Linked DNA regions of Homo sapiens: regions 1, 2, 3, 4 and 5 are each linked to region 6. The links are contacts of gene promoters, found by promoter capture Hi-C in blood cells and fetal thymus (Javierre and others, 2016). All regions are on one chromosome and are shown on one strand. The core of a region is centred on a gene start or on the middle of the fragment in contact, and the rest is flanking DNA. Distances in the headings are between cores, read along the strand shown.

Region 1 (3,024 bases), core at 240-2,739, 250 kb after region 6:
ATGACTATATTTTAAAATAAATGGTAGTCATACCCTTAAGTATGCCTACCAAAGTTCTGAGTAGTCAACTTTATGAGGCATTTCATTAAAAACCCTCACTTTAACGTATAAGGCATTTCTTTGCTTTTTCAAAGACTGATTTGAATTTTTCCTTCCAGAGCTTTCAGGAGAGATCTACTATGTGGTCATTTTTGCAGTTTTATAGTTGGTTCAGCTAATCTAGTGTTGTGCTCTTTCCTTTAGCTCTTGGGTTGATAGCTTATGGCAGTGATAGTCAAGTGTATCACGCCGTGAAGTCAACTGTTTGGTAAGTGAGATATCACTTGCATTTCTCTACTTGTTCTTTTCTTTCTTTTTTTTTGCATTGAAGTTTGAATTATACAAACATTAAATATCATATGTATATTCTGTTTTGATTGTTAAACTATAGAATAGCCTAATGAGATCGTATAAGAAGTCATAAATTACTTAATAAAAGAAAAATTGTTTTAACTAATTTTAACTATGTAATCATCTCTTTGTTACAGGAATGTGATATTGTTCAAGCATAAATGAATATAAATTTGAGGGCTTGGGGATGCTTAAAATCTTTTCCCATTGAAATCAATAGAATTAGGTCAAGGAATTTACCCTAGGAGAGATTTTTCAGGAAATAATTCTTTCATAGGCAGAGGAAAACTATGCTATCAATGGTTTTTCTAGGTTTTATGCTAAATAGGCAATTTTAAAGTCTTCTGATTTAGAAAGTTTAGAATTGATAGAGAAAACTTTGATCTCTCACTAAATAATACACTCCAGAAATACTGATTTTATTAATTTCTCAGAAAGTAGTAGCATTGCTACTTTTCATGAGATTCAGGAGTAATTGGAAAATAAAATTATACATTATATTTATGGATCTTAATAATTGAAGTACTTTTTACATCCTAAATCTGGGGGTAGCAATGTCTACTAGTAGCACACCTCTGCCATACTTGTCATCATCCCTCCTAAATTGAGATTCTGGAAGAAAATTAAACTCTACTGTCTATGGCAACAGTTATATGAGACGAATAAACCTCTCTCTTATGCAACTGGAATGGTATTAACTATGTATCATCTTTGGAAGAACTGAAAACACACTCACCCATGTCGTGTTTTTAGGGCTTAATTCTTTTGTGTAACATGAGTTGAGAAGGGGTACATATGTTCTCTCTTGCTATCCTGGTTGTTAGTTGCAGCTTTTATATTATGAAATATTAATTCATCCAATAAATATTTACTGCCATGTGTCTGGCCCTGTGCTAGGCTCTGACAATATAATGCTGGGCAAAAATGAACATGGCCTCTGCAAGAGGTTTGAACTATGCATTTACTAAAGTGATTATTTGACTACTGACTGTATTTCCCATCAAACTATAATCTAAAGGTGGGAAAGACAGTAACCTAGAGATTCATATCTACTGTAATCTGGAGATTCATATCTTATACAGAAATCAACTCAAAATTGATAAAAGACTTCAACATAAGACCTGAAACTGTAAAACTACTAGAAGAAAATGTAGAAGAAAAGCTCTAAGACATTGGCCTTGGCAATAATTTTTGGATATGAAACAGCACAGACAACAGAAAGGAAAATAAACAAATGGGATTACATGAAACTAAAAAGCTCCTGCAGAGTAAAGGAAAAAATCAACAAAATGAAGAGACAACCTATGGAATGGGAGAATATATTTGCAAGACACATGTCTGATAAGGGATTAATATCCAAAATATACGGAACTCAAACAATAACAAGAGAACAAATAACCCAATTAAAAATGGGGCAAAGGAAAAGCCAAAAGATAACAAGTGTTGGAGAGGGTGTGAAGAAAAGTGAACTCTTGCACACTGTTGATGGGAATGTAAATTAGTGTAGCCATTAAGAAAAACAACATGGGCCGGGCGCGGTGGCTCACGCCTGTAATCCCAGCACTTTGGGAGGCCGAGGCGGGTGGATCATGAGGTCAGGAGATCGAGACCATCCTGGCTAACAAGGTGAAACCCCGTCTCTACTAAAAATACAAAAAATTAGCCGGGCGCGGTGGCGGGCGCCTGTAGTCCCAGCTACTGGGGAGGCTGAGGCAGGAGAATGGCGTGAACCCGGGAAGCGGAGCTTGCAGTGAGCCGAGATTGCGCCACTGCAGTCCGCAGTCCGGCCTGGGCGACAGAGCGAGACTCCGTCTCAAAAAAAAAAAAAAAGAAAAACAACATGGATGTTTCTCAAAACACTAAAAACAAAACTACCATATGATCCAGCAATTCCACTGCTGGTATGTATTCAAAGGAAATACAATCAGTATGCTGAAGAGATATCTGCACTCCCATGTTCATTGCATCATTTTTCGTAATAGCCAAGATATGGAAACAACCAAAATGTCCATCAATGGATGAATGATTAAAAAAAGTGTGCTATGTATCCATAGAGGAATACTATTCTGTCATAAGAAAGAAGGAAGTCCTGTCATTTGAAACAACATGGTTGAACCTGGAGGAAATTATAAGTGAAATAAACCAGGCACAGAAAGACAAATAATGCATGATCTCACATGCCAAAACTAAAAAAATTGAACTCACAGAAGTAGAGAGTAGAATGGTGGTTACTACGGAATAGAAATTGGGTTGGGGATTTATTGGCCAAAGGATACAAGATTTCAGTCAGATGGAATAAATTCAAAAGCCGTATTGTATAACATGGTAACTGTAATTAATAACAATGTCTTGTATTCTTGAAAATTGCTAAACGAGTAGATTTTAGAATTTTGACCATGAAAATGATAAATATCTGAGGGTAATACATATGTTAACTAGATTGATATAGCCATTCTACAATGTGTATGTATTTCAAAGCATCATATTTTACATGATAAATATGTATAATTTTTCCCTGTCAATTAAAATCTATCAATAAATATGAAAAAATAAACCTTGAGAGGAAGTGCTCTGAAAAAAAGAACACCTTCTATAAGAGATGTCACAAAGGATCTTGGCCCTGGCTGGGACTGT
Region 2 (2,935 bases), core at 26-2,525, 200 kb after region 6:
CTTACTCAGGCCTCTCAGGCATTACTTGGCCTTTCTGTTTTCACACCAACTTGGTGAGTTCTACTATAAGATTCTAAAAAGATGGGTAGTGCGTGGTTCAAATTGGTTCATTTGTAACTGGAAAAAATTTATAATTAAAAAAATAAAATATGTTTAAAAAAGCCATAATGATGAAACTTTCAATTAGCAATGACTTTGAAACATAGTACTATGATTGAGTTAATGGCTATCTTATTTAACACATGCTTATTTTTTAAGCAACTCTTTGGTAAAATAAACTATAGCTGGCATTCTCTGTCATAAAAGATAAAGCAGTTATATCCTTCAATCAGGGAATTTAATATTTGGTAGTGCAGATTTAAAATGTATGTGACCCAGGTAATACAAGATAGACCAATAAATTTTAAGAAAGGTATAATAAAGTGTACACAAATTCAGAATCTTACTTGCCCATAAATTAACTTGCTATTGTCTTAGTTCCGTTTATTTTGTGCTCCAAGGCCATGTTCATTTGAATGATTTATGTAGAGATCCACTTTGCTTTTAGTTGTTCATTTGTCCTTGGATTATATTTCTTTAATTTTGGTATATTTCTCCTCTCTTGCCCCTGGCCCTGGTTCTTATCAGTGTTTGCTTTATTTTGCCATAAACAAGAACATTCTGTTTTTGTTTTTCACAGTCAATTGCAGTTGTTCATTTCTTCTTAGAATATTATCTTTAACACTCACCTTACCCACACTAATTACACCCTTACCTAGTGTTGTCCACAGGTAATTATCTTCAGATGTGTGCTTCAGTTTCCTCATCTACATACATGGAGAAAATAGTAATATCTACCTCTAAGGCCTATCATGACAATAAATGAGTTAATACATGCAAAGCACCTGGAATAGTGCCTGGAACACAGCACTTTATAAATCTTTACCATTATTATAATTAAAACTTGAGGCACACAATTTTTATATGTATCCATATGCGTTTATATGTTTATAAATGTGTATCATATATATTTTTTTCTTGATGTGTTTTAAGCATCAGTTTTCACTTCAAGCTTTTTCTGCCTTTTTCTTCCCCAGCCTCCTACAGGTAAAAAGGAAATAGACAATATTGCAGTGTTCACTGGGCAGAGTTGGGTAGAGTGTAGTAGTTAAAAGAGCTGGCTGCACCCATTAACTCGCATGGCACATGTATACATATGTAACAAACCTGCACGTTGTGCACGTGTACCCTAAAACTTAAAGTATAATAATAATAATAAAATAAATAAATAAATAAATAAATGGGAAGCCTCTGACTGTTAAAAAAAAAAGAGCTGGCTATGGATATGGCCATATATAGATAACTAAATATACTGATATACTGAGATTTCCACTTAGTAAACAGTAATTTTGGGCATGTTATATAATATTGGAGGTTTAGTTTCTTCATGTGTAAAATAAAGATAATGATTGTGCATAATTTATGTGATTGTTGGAAGCATTATATGAAATATTGCATGTAAAAGCTTATTTATTTAATATTTATTCACTGCCTGTTCTGTGAACCTAGCATGTAAAAGCTTTTAGCCAAATTCCTGGCACATATTTATGTCTTCAAGCATTATTTATCATCATCAACATTATTGCTATTGTTATTTCTGCTAGTAGCACAGTACTATGTTGTAGCACAATGTTAGGCATATTGTACCTGTGTGATAATATTTATTGAATTTAAACCGTTGGCCAATGTCAGTAGTGCATTCTACACCAGTAAATTCTCTGTGTGTTAAGGCAAGCCTCCACACATCTTCAGACAACATATCTTTACACTAAGGACTAAGGAGTGGCCCACATTTCTTGCCGGCAGGCCTGGGTTAACCATAGAATTTAAAAGCTGTCAATATGTAATACTCTGTATTAGTACAGATAAACTAGTGATAAGCTTAACACAGATAAGCTATGAACTCTTTCTGCAAATAACCTGCTACTCTGGAATTCTTGTGGTATTAAATGACTCTTATTAGAAACCATGTGATTTTAAATTAGATACGGGCACATCTAATTTAGGAAATGTCTTCTCTTCAATTTATATTTACCACCCTAACCACAGATGGTCTTAAACCAAAGCTATCCCAGGGTGTTTGCTGCTTTTTCTTTTCCTCCTTCCCTCCTTCGTTTTTCTTTTCTACCTTTCCTCCTTTTTCCTCCCCTTCCCTCCTTTCCCTCCCTCCCTGCCTCCTTTCCTTCGTTCCTTCCTTCTTTCCTTCCTTCCTTCCTTCCGTCTTTCCCCACTTTTATATACGATACCTCCAAGACTTGAATTACTGTGCTCTGACATGTATAATTAGCAGAGTGAGTATGATAGCTTTGTGACCAGGGAGTAGTTTACTAATCAGTCAGAATGCATGCTATAATTTTGAAAAATTTGAAATAATCCACTTTTATATAAGCATTTCTTTTTGCTGTTTCTTAAAGAACCAACAATTCCATACTCATATTTCTGTACTTTTTCTTTCCTGACTTCAAAACCTCTTTTATGAAGGTAAGAAGAAAGGATGGTCTTAGGAAGAAAGGAAAAGAAGAAAAATAAATATTAAATTAGTATTTAAAATTAAGGTGTAAAGTCTTAGATGATTTTATAAATTGTATGACTTATTCTTTACAATTACTCTTTTAAATGTAAGTAATTTGCTCAGAGTCACATAGCTGGTAGGCAGTATTACTGAGATTTGAGCCCAACTCCATTTGAATCTCACACTCATGCCACTTTTACTATCCCATTGGCTTTTGAACTTTGCTGCAAGGAGATAGGAAGTCTTTAGTAACTGTGACTGAGAGCTAGTGAATAACCAAGTGGAGGACTGGTCCTCCTTTCCCTCTATTTTAACCAGAGCAGCTCCACTTATATCTGTTTCATTCATTATGGCTTTTTGTACAGGATTTTTTGTACTGTATTT
Region 3 (3,426 bases), core at 44-2,543, 130 kb after region 6:
GCCCTGGAACCTGTCAATAACATTTAATACAAAATGGAGTACTAACCTGGTATTTATCTAAAAAGGAGAGATCTGTGGTCTCATTGAAAGGAACAGAAGATGATGTGACATGAACGTATGGATTTAGTTCTGCAATATGTTTAAGTACAGCTTCAGCCCTAAAAAAATAAAATAAATTTTTACTGTTCTTTAATTCAATATACTCAAATCTCTTCAAGTTGGACACTGTAATGACATCAGAGGAACCTGACATGTTACAAAATTTCAATGGAAACTTACCTTGTAGAAGAAAGAAACCAAAACTTACTTGTCTTTACAGGTAACCATACAATCTTGAAATGATATACTATCATATTCTACAATAAACCACACAATCTCAAAGTGTACCCTAATAGTTCCAAGCTCCAGGCTCCTTAACTTTCTTAATAATTTAGCAACACTAAAGTCCTTCTTTAATAAATTCAAGGAAATACATTTCTAGGTAGCAGTGTAATATATATATATCTTTTATATATATAATATATATAAAAGATATATTATATGTAATATATATTATATAATACATATTATGTAAATATATAAAAAATTTGACAAATACAAATAATTAAGTATATATCAATATTTATTTAGCCACAGTAGTAGGAATTTATGGTGATCAATTAAATAACTATGACTGATTGGTGTTCTAGATAAAGGAAATATTCTAAGTAAATGAGTTAAAAAAAAACTCATAATACATAAAAATATCTTTACCTGTATAAAGTAGAGCACTTTATATTTAAACAACTATGACTGATTGGTGTTCTAGATAAAGGAAATATTTTAAGTAAATAAATTTAAAAAAACTCATGATAATACATCAAAATATCTTTACCTGTTTCTCTTATTAACAACATCATCTTCACTGAGAAAGAAGTTGGTTCCTAGATCCCATGCTTGGCATTTTTCTGTATCATGAATTGTAACTGCCTTCAAAAAAGAAAAAAGTATTGGTTGAAGTCAGGAGTTCAAGGATATGCACTCTCTCCAGTATTACTGACAATGTACTAGAACTATTATTTTGTGTAATTAGACAATGAAAAGTAAACAAAGGCATAAGAATTAAAATATGTAAAGATGTTCAACCTTGCCCAGAAATGAAATAACTTTTCTCACTTGTTAGATTGGCATAAATCCACAGTTTGACAACATAGTCTATTGGTGATGGTGAGGTGAATGAGCGACTCTCATTATTACTGATTAACAAGGTAAACTGGCTCAACCTCAACGGAAAGGAATTTGGCAATCTCTAGCAAAAAGACATATGCATTTATCCTGTGATGCAGCAATCCCACTTTTAGGACTCCATCTCAAAGACACACTGGGAGAAATACAAAAAGCTATATATACAAGAGTATTAAATATAGCACACTATTTGTAAGAGCAAAAGACTGGAAATAATCAAAATGCCCACCAATGGGGAACTGGCTTTAAGATGATACATCCGTACAATGTATAATCATGCAACTATTAAAAAAAGAATGAAAGATGTATTTATAAATATGGAGTAATCTCCAGGATATGCTATAAAGAGATAGCAAGGTAAAGAAAAGTAGAGCACTTTATATGAGAAAGGTGGGAGGAGATAAACATATATACCCACACATAAACAGATACACATGTATGTGTGTATGCATTTACCTATCTACAAAAACAAATGAAGAATAAACCAAATATAAAAAGACAGTAACCTAATAAGTGAAGGAGGAAACAAGGTAACAAGAAGCTAGACTTACCTGAAAATACTTTGTTTAAAAAATCTGACTTTGAATCATAAATCTCACATAATAGTAAAACTAAATTTTTTAAAAAGCAATCTCTAAAAATCCAAAGCAAAACAAATACATGGACTAAACTGTTTATGGAGTCTGCTACACACAGAGATTTATTTAAAGTGACTTTTAAAAGCAGTTAATTTGCCTGCCAAATCCAGGTAGGATCAAAAAACTCTAAATTTTTTTCAATAATACATTATTATTAACAATATTGGAATTGGTATTCTGAAACTATGCCATACAAGTAAAATATAATAGGATAAAGAATATATAGCATATATAGGATAAAGCACGTAATGGATCATTAGAAACCAAAATCCTAATAAGATACAAATATAAAATCACAGAAATAAATATCCTATAATCCAAAGTAAAAATTAGAAATTTTAGTAATACTTTATAAGCCTAAACCTGAAAATCAGAAATTTCAGTATTTACTCATTACGAACGTTCTAGCTCTGCCCACTGAAAAGACTTTGTAAACAGCGACAAAGACTACTGGGGGCTGTGTCTCAAAGCCTCAAAAAACAGGAAGAGAACCACAATAACCAAAGATGGAACAATCTGAGCATCAATGAAAATAACTATAATAGATCAAAACACATCAAATTATGTTTAAATCCATGAGTTTATCATAATGTACACATACATATAAATTCACTGGTCAATACTACGAAATGATGACAGGAAACCACTGATTTTGAAAACTGGTAAGTTAATGGGGAAAAATGTAGTATTTATCCTGCATTTTGTAAATGTACAATCCATACTTTCGTGAAACCAAGAAAGTCATGACTGGAATTTTTTTCTAAAATATAATTCCAGCTAATAAATGAGAAAAGAATGATAAAACATCATCACTGCCCCTAATGAAATAATGAATCTAGGCAATAATAATTAACAGCTAATAATAATCACAAAAAGAGAGACAACAGAATATTACTGTCTCCTGATGGGAGAACAGCTATGAAACAGTCTTGCCAAAAAGAATCAAATCTGAACTGGATTCTCTGGCTATAACTACCAGTTTACAGGAAATACACATGTAGAAATACCTGTGACAAATGACTAGTTTCTTCAACAAATAAATTGCAAGAAAAAACCTAGGCAAGGAAGGGAAATCTATAGATTAAAATAAACCAAGTTCAGTATACGAATTTTACTTGGATCCTGATTAGAATGATACAAGCTTTCAATAAAATGTCTTAAGACATTTGGGAAAATTTGAACTCTAACTAGACATTTGATGACTGTGGTAGACAGGCTTTTAAGATGGCCACAATGTTTCCTGCTTCATAGTATTTAGGCTTTCGTGTGATCTCCCACCTTGAGTGTGGCCTGGACCCACTTCTGAGATTAGGTTACAAAAGACTGACTTGTCTTGTTAACACACTCTCTTCTCCTGTCTTACTTGTTTACTCTGATGAAGCAAACTGCCACACTGTGAACTGCCCTATGGAGAAAGCCATACAAGCAAGGAATTGAGGGTGACCTTTGGTCAAGAGCCAGCAGGAACTGAGGTCCTCAGTTTAACAATACATGAAGAACTAAATCCTACCAAGAACCACATGAGCCAGCTTGGGAAGCAGATCCTTCCCCAGTCTAGCCTCAA
Region 4 (3,285 bases), core at 240-2,739, 230 kb after region 6:
TAGCTCTGGGACTATTGTTCATAAACAGCAACAATTGTTAAAAGCACATTAAGCATAAGGAAAAACATCTTAGTGTAGAGTTCAGAGCATAGGCCCTAGAGCCCAATTTCCTGCGTTTAAATCTCAGTTCTTTTGCCGCTTAATAGCTCTGTGAGTTTAGACAAATTACTTGATCTTTTTGTCTCAATTTCCTCATCTAGAAATAGGGCTTACAATAGCACAAATATACTGCAGAGGACTGAGGTAACTATAATAAATTAATATTTGTAAAGTGCTGAAAACAGTGCTTGGCACATGGGAATACTATATAAGAGTTGTTAAATCAATAAAATATTTAGGATGTTGGAATCACATTGTGAAAGCTCCATGATTGTTAATTTTGCTATTAGACACAGCTGAATGTTTCTCAGTGAAATGACAATCATACTAAAGTCACCAGTAAACCATCTCATCTCTTCATTGCTTATTCTAAATTGAGTTTCTTTCCCACTCCTGCTCACAGCTTTATACAGCAAGGTAATTTAGCACTTTAGGACTTTAATGAGACCTATTTGATATCATTGTAATTCTAATTAGATACTTTGGCTAGGAAACATACTTAAGCCTTTAAAAATTGTCAATCCCTTGAGAAAACTGAACTGATTATTTGGAAATTTAAAACTACAAGAATAAAGTTCTTGAAATTAGAATAAACAGACTTACCTGGCAGGCATCCACACGTGGCTCCAGGAACCCGGCACACAACATTCCAGATGTGATGACTCTGCCATCTGCCTCCCCATTGTTGCAGGTCCTATTATCTATAATCTTCACTAATCCCTTGTGGAGTACATTAGAAGTTGTTCGTAAAGGAAGAAAATTGTATAATTTTTATTGATGTCACTATTAATCTTTCTGGCTAGGCTATTAGTATCTAACTTTAACACTATGTACAATTTCTAAATCAAATCAGTGTAAAGTATAATTAAGCTTTTAGCTGTAGTAACAAAAAAGCAAGTAATGTTTATAAACATACCAAGCTGTTGCTGAAAAATGACCATTTTTAGAAATATTTAGTGTGTACATCTATATGTAATAAGATTTTTTCTTTTGAATTGTTTTGAAATTTTATATGTATTACATGTATTAATATGTAATAATATGTTTATTAATGTATTAATATGTTGTATATAAGTAAAAAAATAACATGAGCATATTTTGAATAACTCAATAAGCTATGTTTTAGAAGATAACTCATGGAAACTACATCTTATTTCTTATTCTGTACAGAAAAGATGTCTTAGAAAACAAAATGAATCAGGTGCTGTGGCTCACGCCTGTAATCCCAGCACTTTGGGAGGCCGAGGTGGGCGGATCACCTGAGATCAGGAGTTCGAGATCAGCCTGACCAACATGGTGAAACCCTGTCTCTATTAAAAACACAAAAATTAGCCAAGTGTTGTGGTTCATGCCTGCAGTTCCAGCTACTTGGTAGGCTGAGGCAGGAGAATCACTTGAACCTGAGAGGCGGAGGTTGCAGGGAGCCGAGATCATGCCATTGCACTCCAGCCTGGGCAACAGAGTGAGACTCTGTCTCGAAAAAAACAAAAACAAAACAAAAACAAAAAAAAAAACCAACCAACCAAACAAACAAAAACAAAAGAAAACAAAATGAAAAACTCATATTGCAGGAGCATACATTTTATGATTATTTAAAAATTTTTAAGCTAAATTTTTACTGTAATTCTGAATCTTGAAATTAATTTTAGGTTTATTTTTCTGCTTTCAAACTGCATTTACAGACATTAATAGCCACTAAGTGTTCACATTATTAGGGTCATGGGGATGCATATATTTAAATCTTTGCTCAAGTATCACCTTGTCACCTCATTAAAAATGCTGAATCCCCTACAGTCCCTATTTTTTTCTATGGCACTTAACTGCATAAAATTTGCTATAACTTACTTATTTCTTTTAATATACTTACATCCTTCATTTCATGAAATTGTCCATTTTCCTTTGTTAAGGATGAAAGCTTTTTCCTTTTTTTTTTTTTAACTAAGAAAATAGGCAGGAATTATCTGCCCATTTCATTCATTAACGTATCCAAACCACCTAGAACAATCCCTGAACAAAGGTGGTAATTATTTTCCATTAGTAAATGAATAAATGAATGAAGGAAATGAATTACTTATTCAAATAATATATTTCTTGAAAAACTGCCATCTTAAGAGGAATTATAGTAAGCAGCTCTATGAAGTTATAGTTTCTGCATGAATGTTGTTGAGGATAATTTTCAATCCATTCCACATTGTACTCTTAAAAATGATCCAGAGAAAGTATTTTTCAGTTTAGGTGTAATTCTGAGTATTTTACTTTTTAACTCCTGAAATTCAAGCCATATAACGGAGTCAGGTGAGGAACTCACCATCAGACTTTAAATGATCCCCATGCAGTAACCACTGCTTCTGAATTGTATAGGAATATATAATTAACATCTGGAAGACATGCTTTTTGGATGTTGCTTGTATATAACACTGGTGAAGATAGATGCACAACAGCAATGTCATTATCGTGTGCAGGGTAATGGTAGTTTTCTTGAATTATAACATTCTTGATATTTCACTGTGTTTGTGGGTTACTTAAAATAACATTCCATTCTTTGGGATCATGGACCCTAAAAAATAGATTTATTAATTAAAAGTCCTGTGTATTGTACTTGTAGGAATTAATGTCTTACAATTTTAAAAACAATTACGTATGTTTTGAGTTCCCATGATACTTGTAAGCATACAAAAATAAAGTTGTGTATAAGAGAAAAATAAAAATAATGATAACATGAGCAGATTTTGAATAATGCAATGTTATGTTTAGAAGATAACCCATGAAAACTACATTTTATTTCTTATTCTGTATAGAAAAGACTGAAGGGGATTTAGAAAAATAAATGATGACAATATAGGATAATAAGATTAAACAAAAAGTGGGCAAGGGTATGGGAAAGTGAACTAAGGGAAATTATGGAAATAGTCTAAATCTTCTTTTTGACCATTAAAATCTATAAAAAGAAATGTATTTCTGACTTATTATTATTTGTTAATCCAGGATTTTTATATTAAGTGCTGAAAAATAGTGCTGCTGAAACATTTTCAAACTCTCTACTAAAGCAACATAAGAAGCAAGCATGATTTTGAAGAGAGCTGAGCAGGTTTGGGAGAGATTTTTTTGCTTAAAAAAGACCCAATGAGGGCTATATAAAATCAATGGAAGTTAATGAAAAATATCATCAAACAAAAGGGTAAACAA
Region 5 (3,264 bases), core at 393-2,892, 180 kb after region 6:
TAAATGCATCAGGATCTGCCTGCTAATGCAGCTAGACTGTAGTATGTAAGAGGAAGAGTGTTCAAAATAAAACTAGAGAGGAGCCTAAATAAAACTAGAGAGTTCAAAATAAAACTAGAGAGGAGCCAAAATAAAAAGAGTGTTCAAAATAAAACTAGAGAGGAGCCGAGTTACTTGGGAATTTGTAAATACAACAGGTATTTCAGGTTCAAGTTCAGGGATGATAGCCTTTCCTTCTTAAGCCTATTCTTTTTTTTTTTTTTTTTTTTTTAGACGGAATCTCACTCTGTTGCCCAGGCTGGAGTGCAGTGGTGAGATCTTGGCTCGCTGCAACCTCTGCCTCCAAGATTCAATTGATTCTCCTGCCTCAGCTTCCTGAGTAGCTGGGATTACAGGTGCCCTCCATGGATCTCAGATAATTTTTGTACTTTTAGTATAGGGGGGTTTCACCATGTTCGCTAGGCTGGCTTGAACTCCTGATCAAGTGATCCACCTGTCTGGGCCTCCCCAAGTGCTGGGATTACAGGTGTGAGCCACCACACTGAGCCTTAAGCTTATTCTTTCTGTCATCTCTCTCCATACACACTCATGCATACACACATCTATATGTCATTCTGTTTGTTAAAGCCTTTACTTTCATGGATGAAAATAGAAAAAAATTTGTAGGTACACAAGAGTTATGCAGGAGCAATCACATTTGAAAGTAAAGACAATCTAATCAGACACTGATGACTTAAGTTAAAGATAAACTGTGCTAAGATGTGGCAAGTTAAAGGGAATAGACAACTTATATTTCTCTCCTTCTTTCCCTGATCCTCTGAAATCCACATTGCCTTATAATCTTTCCCTAGGCCATCCATGCTTCTGAATACTCCCCTTCTTTCATCTCTTCACCCTTATACACAGTGAACAAAGGCACTCTTGGCATGACCAACTTGCGGTCTAGGCAAGTCCAGGCTTCAGCTATGACTGCAGTATTGCTCCATGAGCACACAACTGCATTTACTTTGGCAGTCTCTACTAGAACTGCAGTGGGACACTGATAATTGATTCCAACCTTGAAGCCAGAGAGGCACAGATCTGCAAATTTGTCTTGATGGTGGCAATGCAGCCTTCATATTTGTGGAAACCATATTACACTGATATAGTAATAATGTATTATTACCATAATACTATACAATAGGTAGTGAGCCATACATTTATCATTTCAAGTGTCACATATCATCTGGTTGGCTAGCTCAGAGCAAGCATTAGTTATCTCTGCTACAGAAAATGTTTGTGGTAGGTTTTCCCAGCAGAGATAGCTGGATATATACACGGAGGGAAGTAGACATAAAGATAGAGAATAAGTATAAAATTTTGATATATTGACATTCAAGGCACCATGAAATCTGAGAGAAACAATGATGGAGAATACACACTGGTTGAAAATGTGCTTAAGGTTATTGTGTATTGGGTGCTCAATATTAAGGTTTCTACATAAATATTATAGATGGCCTCATTATCTAATATGAAGACACAATCAAAGTGCTAAAGAGTTGATGGAATTGAAGACCTCAGCTTCAGCTAAGGAAAGCTAAGGAGCTGGGTAAATGGAGAATTTTGCTCCTATAATCAACTGATAGAGATTCTATCAACAGAAAGGCAAATAAAAACTGTAGTTACCACCAACCAGCAAAAATTCAAGAAAGCCTGAAGACCTGTACTTAAGTCAGCTAGCTTCTGAATCCAATCCAACACTTAGTCAATGCTTTCCTTTTCAACGGTGTAGTGACTAGAGGCAAAGCTATTTGATGCATCTTCTTTGCTAGTGATCGCTTCCTAAGGCAAACTTCATCACCACGTATTGGCTCTAGGTCCACAAACAATTTTGTGGAGCCATGCTTGACCACAATAGTCCCGTTGAAGAAGGTATTAAAGGAGTCATCTTCTCTCAGAATGCTCTTATTGTTTGGCATTGGATTTGGGCTAAATTTTGTATTCCAGGCATTAGAGCTCCTACCAGTTATTTACATTATTTACAATCTGGATAATACCCTCACTGATGTAATTAGGGATGCTTTAATGCATAGTGGCAGGGATAGGAAGTAAAGATGTGAGAGCAAATATTAAGTCCAGGTTATCATCTCCGACTAACTGAGAATCAAAGTATCTATTTTTATGAAGCAGTGAAATGACAGTTTTAGTATGCCAAGAGGTAAACACTACTCAGAAAAGTTTTCCTACATGTTCTTTATTATCAAATAAAGATAATAATAATAATAATAATAATAATAATTTAAAAATTACCTGCATGAATTCTTAGCCCTCTGCTGGTGAGATTCTGTCGTTATTTCTATGTCTTGGGAAATTGAAGATGAAGGAAATAGGTAATAAATAGATTTTACACCATAAAGTTTTGTGGATAGATCTGATGAATGCTTTAAATGCCAGATGGTCCCATTACTTTTATTACTTCCACTGGACAGAAATGATGGACATTGATGACACCTAATTGCAAACTCTATTTAGTTGCTGAAAGTGTGACAGACACCATACACCTTGTTTCTTAATAGATCTCCTTTCTTCTTGCTAACGGGACCCCACTTTTGTTCAGATATAGTGCTGCCATGAGCTTCATGGCAGGCTGTTTTTCCCTAGCTCTGCACACTGAGTTATGACTGTGAAACTGTCCCTATCAACTGCATAAAATTAGCCAGGGAAGAAGGGAAGGAGAGAAACAAAAACGAACCAAGCTTGTAGCACATTCAGCATTAATCATTAGGTCAGCTTGCTGTCTGACCTGCTTCCTCATGGTTGTTTCCTGCCTATTGCCCCAGAATCACGTAGACCCTGTCACAAGATTATAGTTCCCCTAGATAACATCTTAAGCATTGTGAAGCTTTTATCCATTTGAGATATTCTTTCAAGTCCCGCATACCGGTGAAACTACTGATGTGAAACTACTGATGCCAGCAGGTCTGAAGGACCCCATGAGGTGCTGACTCAGCAAAGAATGCAGTTTCCACATCCTGATGATTTCATCTCTCTTCTCCTGACCCATCAGCAACCTCAATTTTCCAGCCCCTGGCTGTCCACAACCCCTTAAAAACGTCAGCCCAGAACTCTCATGGAGATGGATTTGAGGGTTTTTCCCATGTCCTTGCTCAGCTGCCCTGTAATCATTAAACTCTCTGCTGCTAACTCTGCTGTCTCAGTGTATTGGTCTGTTATTGCATAGCAGGCATATGAACCTGGTGGTCCTGTAACAATTGGTCTAAAATA
Region 6 (2,935 bases), core at 349-2,848:
TAGTCAGAACTGAGACTCCCTCTTCCTGGTTCCACTATTTTATCAGGTGAATTTCTTTTTTCACAGCCACAAAGTCATTGCACTGCTTGCATTAACATTCCCGTTAGTATAAGATGACTACCCTTAATCAGTGGGCACAGAAATCATTATATTAGTCAGAGGTGATAGTTTTTCCTTTCTTCATTTAAAAATCTATTAACGATGAGAATAAAAATAATCTTAAAAGCTTAAGTACGTAAATCACCTGGAAGGTCGACAAAATCTTCTTCTGTAGCCATTTTTGAGATGATCCTGAAAGAAAAGTAAATCATCAATTTGGTTTCTTTAAGATAGAGTCGAGTAAAATTTATTTTCAAAGTAACTTCATCCAGTATGGGCATGCTATACACCAAACATCTCCTAAGGGCTCAAAACAATTTTGAGGTTATGTTATGACATAACATAGGTTATGACAGGCATTTAAAAACTGAACTGCAGGCATCTGGTAAGCTTTATTCCGCTTCTCTCCCCACAGTGAGAATGGCTTTATTGCTTTCTTCTGATTATATATAATGTAAACAATATATGTGCTCATAGTAAAAAGTATAGATTATATTATTCTTTCATACAACTCTTTATGTTTATATGTATAACGTCACATAATGGGAGATCATCGAAGCTGAAGATTTTCTTAGAAGGGGAGATAAATTAGAAAAGAAATGATACGGATTTTTATATAGTAACCATAACCAAAGTATGAAATATAGAATAGTGAACACCAAAGAAGTCCAGAAATATGTAAACAAAATGAGTTGTCGCCCCCATTAGTCATTCACAGCTTGTACCTTTTAACTGATAGCTGTCTTTCAGAAGAGTTTGTCAATAACATATGCTCCATAAATCAGCCTCAAGAACTGCATAAAAGGCCACCATTTTGACAGAAGAACTGAAAACGTCAAATTATTTCGAGACGTACTTGTTACATAATCTGTTTCTCCCAACTACCAAGTGTGACGCAAAGACACACTTTTAAGGCGTTTCAATACTTCTACCATGGGGAGAAAAGTTATTTGGAGGCCTAGGAACTGGAGCTAGACTAAAAAGCAGAAGCCAAGATCGCGCCACTGCACTCCAGCCTGGGGGACAGAGCAAGACCCCGTCTCAAAAACAAAAACAAAAAAAAACCCAGCAGAAATCACAAGCACCTCTCAAGAGTAAGACGTAGGCACAGACGAAATGACGACATGAAAACTTAAGAAATAATAAAAGTACAGTAAATTAACTCTGGTTATCGACACACGATCACACTTGATTTCAAAAATTCCTGCGGCTTTCCCACTGAAATCCCTCAGAGATCACAGCCTCAGCCTAGCATTTCCTTCTCCCCAGCCTCGGGCGCCCGTGCCCCAGCCAGCCGCTCAACCACTCGCCTGGAGCGGGGGGCCTGCACTTACCAGACCGGACGCAGCCATGTTCCGGCCCCGCTGAGCCAGCGCAACTGTCTGAGGTGGAAGCCCACACGGACCACAGCTCCAGGAAGCCGAGCAAGAAACGAATCGCCGGAATACCAGGCCGCGGCCAAGCAATAACCTTAAGTCTCAGGCGACTGCCGCGAGAGCTGCGATCCGGAAGGCGCGCGCTAACAACACTCCCCCGCCATTGGCTCCGCCCTCAACAAACAAGAACGCTTGGCCTGTGCCTGGGTTTGAACCCGGAGACACATGCGCAAAACGGGCCGCGCCGTCCAATAGGAAGCAAGCCGTTAGTGGGCTCGCCCCTTCATGCTCCAGGCCAACGGCCCTCCAGCCTGCAGACCCACCCGCCCGCCCTACCTCTAGCCGCTCTGCTCTTCCCACCTCCCTTCCTCAGCGCCGCGCCCGGGACAGGCGCGAGACTGGGCTTTTATTAGGAAGGCACGATCCTGGGAACCGCTCCTTGTGCCCAATGTAAAACTTCTCAACAGTTCTATTAAGGAATAATAAGTAATACTTGGAAGGATGAGAGGTAGAAATTGCAGACGACTTTTTTTTTAATAGAATCTTTTTTTGAAGAGATTTTTCTAATGCAGATTCGTCAGCCACGCCCAGCCCATCTAACCATCATCTCTGAAAATAATTGAATAATTATGTATAATAATGGTGATGATGGCTTGTATTCTTTTTCAAGTATGTGGGCGATATTTTTATGATGCATTGCCAACAAATGACCCACGTAAATATCTATCATTTAAGTATGATGCACTGAAAAGAATTCTATACAGAATCCTGAAACCTGCCAGCCATTGACTAGCTATGTTATGGAGGGCAAAATTGCGGCACCATTCTGGGTGTTTCCATAGTGATAGAATGGAAGTCTAAATTAGACGCTCTGAAGACTTCTCACCTGACCAGTGTATGATTCTATGAAGCTGTATCTTATTTTATTATTTAATTTAAAATTACAAGAAAATTCTAATCAGAAAATAGTTTACTAATTGAATAAATACATTAATCAGGAGTTGAGCTAATAGATTTTTAAAACATGTAGTGCTTTAACAAATGCTGTCAACTATGAAGGCCAATTTTTTTATTTTATTTATTTTTTTGATAGAAAAAAAGGAACTATGATCTCTGACTGAAATTAGGCCTGGATTGCACTCCATTCCATTAATTCTGCCATTATGGGCAACTAAGTTATCTGTTCCTTAATTCTCTTGTCTGCAAAATGAGAATACTATTAAAGTGGTTGAGATGTTGTAATTGAATAATTCCTGTTAAGATCTAAGCACAATGTTTGGAACATAGTAAGAATTCAATAATAAAGCTATTGGAATCATTATGGAGAGTTTTTTACTATGTTTGGCAGTTTTGCCAATCAGTCCAACTTATAATTTGGTGCTGTCACATTTGGAATAGATAATGATAAACACTAACATTTATTGACTGCATACTCTATGCCCAGTTCTGAAATGCTTTGC

What was found. Contacts are between HindIII fragments. The CHiCAGO score rates a contact against its expected background, and 5 or more counts as called.
Region 1: a fragment that was not itself captured here is called in contact with the fragment with the promoter of CENPC in region 6 in 1 of 17 cell types (naive CD4 T cells); the score reaches 5.0 in naive CD4 T cells.
Region 2: a fragment that was not itself captured here is called in contact with the fragment with the promoter of CENPC in region 6 in 9 of 17 cell types (fetal thymus, total B cells, naive B cells and 6 more); the score reaches 12.7 in fetal thymus.
Region 3: a fragment that was not itself captured here is called in contact with the fragment with the promoter of CENPC in region 6 in 13 of 17 cell types (activated CD4 T cells, total B cells, naive B cells and 10 more); the score reaches 14.4 in activated CD4 T cells.
Region 4: a contact is called between a fragment that was not itself captured here and the fragment with the promoter of CENPC in region 6, in 3 of 17 cell types (fetal thymus, activated CD4 T cells and non-activated CD4 T cells). The highest score is 7.6, in fetal thymus.
Region 5: a contact is called between a fragment that was not itself captured here and the fragment with the promoter of CENPC in region 6, in 15 of 17 cell types (activated CD4 T cells, fetal thymus, total B cells and 12 more). The highest score is 12.1, in activated CD4 T cells.

Annotation. Positions count from the first base shown.
Region 1 is chr4:67,790,205-67,793,228 of GRCh38, forward strand. LOC102724780 (a long non-coding RNA gene) reads left to right here. Exons shown (of 2, transcript XR_001741713.3): 1 at 1-307. Among named protein-coding and RNA genes, the nearest start is that of GNRHR, 37 kb to the left of the region's middle. The HindIII fragment of the contact is 3,422 bases long and covers 1-3,024 here.
Region 2 is chr4:67,747,470-67,750,404 of GRCh38, forward strand. The region is part of intron 1 of GNRHR (gonadotropin releasing hormone receptor); the gene reads right to left. Among named protein-coding and RNA genes, the nearest start is that of GNRHR, 5.5 kb to the right of the region's middle. The HindIII fragment of the contact is 453 bases long and covers 1,050-1,502 here.
Region 3 is chr4:67,677,565-67,680,990 of GRCh38, forward strand. UBA6 (ubiquitin like modifier activating enzyme 6) reads right to left here. Exons shown (of 33, transcript NM_018227.6): 5 at 875-969; 6 at 47-158. Among named protein-coding and RNA genes, the nearest start is that of UBA6, 22 kb to the right of the region's middle. The HindIII fragment of the contact is 3,415 bases long and covers 1-3,001 here.
Region 4 is chr4:67,769,866-67,773,150 of GRCh38, forward strand. It overlaps the pseudogene TMPRSS11CP. Among named protein-coding and RNA genes, the nearest start is that of GNRHR, 17 kb to the left of the region's middle. The HindIII fragment of the contact is 1,045 bases long and covers 968-2,012 here.
Region 5 is chr4:67,724,396-67,727,659 of GRCh38, forward strand. It overlaps the pseudogene LOC100419046. Among named protein-coding and RNA genes, the nearest start is that of UBA6-DT, 25 kb to the left of the region's middle. The HindIII fragment of the contact is 2,182 bases long and covers 552-2,733 here.
Region 6 is chr4:67,543,905-67,546,839 of GRCh38, forward strand. CENPC (centromere protein C) reads right to left here and starts at 1,599. Exons shown (of 19, transcript NM_001812.4): 1 at 1,434-1,599; 2 at 245-291. The coding sequence starts at 1,451. RefSeq lists enhancers at 1,354-1,593, 1,371-1,921 and a silencer at 1,744-1,883. The HindIII fragment of the contact is 5,245 bases long and covers 488-2,935 here.